Linked DNA regions of Homo sapiens: region 2 is linked to region 1. The links are contacts of gene promoters, found by promoter capture Hi-C in human tissues and cell types (Jung and others, 2019). All regions are on one chromosome and are shown on one strand. Each heading gives the region's core, a stretch centred on a gene start or on the middle of the fragment in contact. The rest is flanking DNA. Distances are from core to core; before and after follow the strand shown. Region 1 holds the start of DDR2 (discoidin domain receptor tyrosine kinase 2). Region 2 has its middle 14 kb from the start of UHMK1.

What was found. Contacts are between HindIII fragments. The study calls those that stand out against the background at their distance.
Region 2: a fragment that was not itself captured here is called in contact with the fragment with the promoter of DDR2 in region 1 in 1 of the 25 tissues and cell types used here (spleen).

Annotation. Positions count from the first base shown.
Region 1 is chr1:162,631,017-162,634,097 of GRCh38, forward strand. DDR2 (discoidin domain receptor tyrosine kinase 2) reads left to right here and starts at 1,448. Exons shown (of 18, transcript NM_006182.4): 1 at 1,448-1,615. RefSeq lists an enhancer at 196-295. The HindIII fragment of the contact is 26,458 bases long and covers 1-3,081 here.
Region 2 is chr1:162,482,157-162,485,237 of GRCh38, forward strand. No RefSeq gene overlaps it. Among named protein-coding and RNA genes, the nearest start is that of UHMK1, 14 kb to the right of the region's middle. The HindIII fragment of the contact is 3,180 bases long and covers 58-3,081 here.

The DNA.
Region 1 (3,081 bases), core at 198-2,697:
TGCCCTCTGAACCATTCCCATGTTCTCCGTGTCCTTTTCTGTAACAGCTGTGAGGCACAGATGTTAACGGCTGCTTTCTGACCCTCAGACTGGTGCTGAGCTTATGAGACTTTTAGGGACTTAACACTGACTCAACACTAGCTCTCAGTTTCATGGCCACCCTCATTGTGTGTGTGTGTGTGTGTGTGTGTGTGTGTGTGTGTGTGTGTGCGCTTTTCCATTCCCCTTATGAAACATCTCCTGCCCCTAACTTACTATGGGAACGTTCCTCCATGATCTCTTTCCATCCTCCCTTTCCTGTTTGCTCACTTCTTTTCTTGCTCATCTTGGAGACTGTGCAATCCCAGATTAACTACAAACAGAGAAGAGCTGGTGATAGCTCCAGAGCTCAGAGAAAGGAGGTCTCTTTACAAGAAGTCTGGCTCTCAAAGGTAAGCTCGGTCTTCTTGACCTGCCTTTTGCCATCTACCTCTCTCTTTGGATCTCCTGCCCCTGGGTCCCTGCTTGCCCTGCATTCTCCATACTCACGGAGAATCAGGACCTCCAGAACAGCCCAGCGTGGGCTTGGTCAGGAATGATCCAGGCTCTGAAGGGTTAAGGCTGGAGCCTGGATGGATGGAGAGGGTTATTAGTTATCGTTTGGAGAGTGGAGTGAAGGCTCCTCCCCTGTTGCCTACCCGCCCCTTTCACATGATCTCTGACTATAGCTGTGGAAGCGGGGAGAAGATAAAGGAGGGAAAAAAAAGTTCACAAAATAATTTAGAAAGTCCTTATAAATGCTTGTGTTTTCATTTAGCAGCATGAATCCAGGACAGCAACAGACCCTCAGAGGCAGCAGCCAACTGGGAATTGAGTGGAAAAAAATAGGAATCCTGGATTCTGGCAGTTTCCAGTTGTTTTCTTGGTGGGGGGAGCCGTGGTGGGAAGGGATTAAATCAAATCTTTCGGGGGAGAGCTCAGCTCTAGGCTTTCATGGTCAAAATACTAAAGGTCAGCTCCGCGTGTGTGCCCCAACTGTCCTGGAAGCTTCAATTGGAAAACTCCAAACTTTAAGTTTTGCTTATAGCTTCAGCTCAAGTAAGAAAAATGAGGTGTGGGGTAGGCGGCGGGGGGGTGGGGATCACAGGAAGGGGATCAAGTCTTAGATGGAGGGGAAGGAAGTGGAGATGGATATGGGTGGGAATAAGGCAGAAGGGAGCGGTGTCTTTAAGTCTGTCCTATGGTTATACATATTTTTTCTTCTATGAATGGGTTTTGCTGTAAATTATAGCTTTGCCCATAGTCCCTTGGGTCAAAAGAAATAGTCTCCAAACAGAAAACAGCTCTGATTGGTGACTTTCCTTCTTCCCTCCCCAACCCCCTTCCTAATTGAAACCAAATGTGCAATATATTGGATGCTGGGATCCCTGGCGCTTTCCCAGGAATCCTCAGAATGTGAGGTTTCTCTCAAAGGCATCTTGCATCAGCCTGTGGATGTATGCCTACCACCGGGCTCCTTCACCAGCAAAGTGGAAAAAGAAGCGTTTCACAACAAATTCTTCTTTTTGGGTTGGGGAAACGCAGTGGATTATAGCTCTGTTTTCTTCTTTCCAAAACTGTGCACCCCTGGATGAAAGTAAGTTATGTGGGTCTTTTTTCTTTATTATTTTTTCTTTTTTGAAAATGAAAGCTCCGCATATACTTCTTTTGGTGTTTCAGGAAAAGTTTTAAAAAGGAAACAGAAGGGCGTTTTAAGTCAGACAAGGAAGGGAACGTAATGAGGCACCACAGACTCGAGAAATCAGATCCCATGTTTTTGGGGGTCTGGATTTATGCTATGAAGGGAAGAATAAAGAGCAGTAATAACCAAAGAAGCCTGAAGCAAAATAAATGAATCTATAGCAGCTGCAAGATACAATAAACAGTGTTAGCAGAGTTGAAATTGTTGGCAGGCAAGACAGGCCGATTGCAGAGTTAGTTTCAGGATGAAGAAGGCAGAGCAGGAGAGCTAAGTTTTTAGACATTTAGTAGTGGTGTTAGAAGGTCCTGAGTTTTGGAGATAGTGTAGACCAAGCACTTTTTGTTTTTCAGGGGAGTTGCTGATTTACTTGTGAGAAGGGTAACTTTGGATGAGGGGTGGCTTCCCCCTGAGATTTGGGGTGGCTAGGGGGAGGCTGGGTGCATGGAAGATTTTTCAGTTGTGACAGTGAAATACAGCTTCCCAGACTCATCTCCTCGCTGGCTCTGGGTGCCTTTCCCTTTGTTATGGAATGACTGGGGCTGTTTTCATTTGGGACCTCTGAGTCCTGGCCTAGGTTCAAGAGTCCCATCCAAAGGGAAAGAGAACTGTTCCCAGTGGCTGAAACTCTCAGACCAGCCATTTGAGGCAAGAGTTCGTACTGTTCAAGCCAGTAGGGGGTTCAGCACCATTTTGCCGATCATTGGCTTCCTACAACACAGAGTTAAGAGTCCTGAAAAGGGCCTTAGGCCTCTCATCTAACCCCTTCGCTCCACAGATGTAAAAAATGATAGGAAGGGGACCGACCTGTTCAAGTCCCACAGCACATCTGTAGTGGAGCTGAAAATGAAATTGAGATTCTCTCTACTGCTAGTCCAGTGTTCTTTCCACTCCATACCTCTGCTTTCATTTCCTTTTTAAGGCTTATTCTGGCTGAGACAATAGAGGCAGTATGATGAGCAAGTCACCACAAGGACGTTAATTATCAGTAATAGAGAGGACGCCAATGGCGGCTCATCAGCTAATGATGTCTATGGTTATATTTGTGTGTGTGTGTAAAATAAAAAGAAGCTAAATTCTGAGTATTTTCTATGCAGCAGGCTCAAAATAATACATAATTCATGCTCAGAGCTCTTCATACATAATTTGATTGACTCTCACAGCTATGTAAGGCATTATTTCTATCGTACATGTAAGGACATTAACGCTTAGAGAAGCGAAATGAGTTGCTCAAGGAAAGGTAGCTAATACATTTGAAACTCATGTATATCTGACTCTAAAACCTATGCTTGGAATCACTATTCAATGATACTCCCCTCATCTCCCTTGCATTTGGTTACTTTTGGGGTCAAATTCCATATTTC
Region 2 (3,081 bases), core at 398-2,897, 150 kb before region 1:
TTTGCAACAACATGGATGAACCTGTAGGGCATCATGTTATGTGAAATAAGTCAGGCACAGAAAGACAAATTTCACATGTTCTCTCTCCTAAGTGGGAGTTAAAAATTATTTTAAATGAACTCTTGGAGACAGAGTAGAATGATGATTACTAGAGGATAGGAAGGGTAGTAGGGAGGGGATGCAAAAATACAGTTAGAGTAAGTACAAAGATACAGTTAGATACGATAAATAAGATCTAGCATTCAGAGCACAATAGGGTGACTATAGTTAACAATAATCTATTGTAAGTTAAAAAATAACAAAAATAGTGAAATTTGAATGTTCCTAACACAAAGAAATGATAAATGCTTGAGGTGATGGATACCCCAATGACTGTGATTTGATCATTTCATATTATATGCTTGTTGCAAATCATCATATGTACCCCATAAATATATACAACTATTACGTGCCCATAATAATTAAAAATTTAAAACATTTTTTTTCTTTTTTTTTTGCGGCGGAATCTTGCTCTGTCGCCCACGCTGGAGTGCAGTGGCGTGATCTCAGCTCACTGCAACCTCCACCTCCCAGGTTCAAGCAATTCTCCTGCCTCAGCCTGCCAAGTTGCTGGGATTACAGGTGCCCACCACCACACCTGGCTAACTTTTTTTAATTTTTAGTAGAGGTGGGGTTTCACTAAGTTGGCCAGGCTGGTCTCCAACTCCTGTTCTCAAGTGATCCTCCCACCTCTGCCTCCCAAACTGTCGGGATTACAGCCGTGAGCCATTGCTCCCGGCCAAAATTTAAAGCTTTTTAAAAATCAGAAAGAAATGCATAACAAAATTGAACAGTGTTTTGTCTTCTTTCAATCCAAGTGTGTGACTTGGTAAGGGATTTTTTTTTTTTTTTTTTTTTTTTTTTTTTTTTTTTTTTTTGAAACGGAGTCTCGCTCTGTCTCCCAGGCTGGAGTGCAGTGGCGCGATCTCGGCTCACTGCGAGCTCCGCCTCCTGGGTTCACACCATTTTCCTGCCTCAGCCTCCCGAGTAGCTGGACTACAGGCGCCCACCACCACGCCCTGCTAATTTTTATATTTTTGGTAGAGACGGAGTTTCACCGTGTTAGCCAGGATGATCTTGATCTCCTGACCTCGTGATCCACCTCCTCGGCCTCCCAAAGTGCTGGGATTACAGGCGTGAGCCACTGCGCCCGCCAGGGATCTTTTTTTCTAATGCGTCTACTCTTGGCTTTGAGAGACAAGAAAGAGCTCTGTAAGGTATAATCTGTTCATATACAAAAGATGAGATTTACTGACCTGCTCCTAGACAAGTTCTGGAATTTGGTAAAATGAAAATATCCTGCTATTCATAGGAAAACAATAATTTGCTTCAGTTTTTTTTGGTTGTTGTTTGTTTTTTTGTTTTTTGAGACAGAGTCTTGCTCTGTTGCCCGGGTTGGAGTGCAATGGCACAATCTTGGCTCACTGCAACCTCCACCTCCCGGGTTCAAGCGATTCTCCTGCCTCAGCCTCCGTAGTAGCTGGGATTACAGGTGCCCGCCACCACGCCCAGTTAATTTTTGTATTTTTAGTAGAGATGGGGTTTCACCATATTGGCCAGGCTGGTCTCGAACTCCTGACCTCAAATGATCCACCCGCCTCAGCCTCCCAAAGTGCTGGGATTACAGGAGTGAGCCACCACACCTGGCTTTGCTTCAGTTTTTAACTACTTAAATCCGTGAGAATTTTTTATAGTATAGAAAGTATGAAGAGTAAAGACAGAAATTGTCTCATTTTACTGGAAAATGAAATCCATGTATGCTTATCTTAAACTCAGAATTCAATATTCAGAATTAAACTTCAACTCAGAATTATTTGTGCAATAAAAAACAAGCCCAAGTTTCACATTAAAGAAGAAAATTTTCTTTTTCATTTTTAGCCTCAAAAATAACAATTTTGGCTGGGCATAGTGGCTCACGCCTGTAATCCCAACATTTTTGGGAGGGTGAGGCAAGAGGATTGCTTGAGGCCAGGAGTTTGAGACCAGCCTGGGCAACATAGCAAGACCCTATTGCTATTATTAAATAAATGAATAAATAACACTTTTATGCAAGAAATCAATACCTGTATATAATGATTTTGTCACTGCCACGCTTACATTTAAGCTTGATCATGTCACTCAGTAAGAAAATGTTCTCTTTTAAGTCTTGTACAAAATTGTATCTTATACTAGATTTTTATTCATATTGGTTTTGTTTATGATTTTCATAGCTTACCTATTCAATAAATGTTAATAAAATTTTATGTTGTGAATAATATTAATCAAAATAAATGTGCAGTCTTTGTTTAAGTTAAATCAACCAAGCCTACCTTTAGAAAAAAATCAAACACCATTTTGGCTTGTCAGTTATTTAACAGAAATTTGTCATCTGCCTTCTGAATTTTATTTTATTTTATTTATTTATTTATTTTATTTTATTTTGAGACAGAGTCTTGCTCTGTCACCCAGGCTGGAGTGCAATGGCGTGATCTTGGCTCACTGCAGCCTCTGCCTCCCAGGTTCAAGTGATTCTCCTGTCTCAGCCTCCCGAGTAGATGGGATTACAAGTGCCCGCCACTTCACCCTGCTAATTTTTGTATTTTGAGTAGAGATGGGGTTTCACCATGTTGGTCTGGCTGGTCTTGAACTCCTGATCTCAGGTGATCTGCCCGCTTCTGCCTCCCAAAGTGCTGGGATTAAAGGTGTGAGCCACCATGCCCAGCCTGCCTTCTAAATTTTAAAAATTCATGAAAAGAAAGAGATTAATTTTTAAAAAGGTAAGTTAAGCTTAACTACCGATTTTTTTCCCAGAAAGGTTGGCTATAAAGTAATTATTAGTTTTAGATAGGGTGAAGAACTACTTTTGCCCATCAAATATGTTATAATATACCCCATTAATATCTTACATAGTAGAAATTTATTATAAGACTTTTAGGCCCACTTGGATAAGGTAAAAAATCAAGCACATTTCAACAAAGGAAAAACTAAAGTTTTCTCTATTTATACTAATGACTTAGATAAGAGTTATCCTTTGTAAGGAGGGAGAACCACGCAAAAGGTATA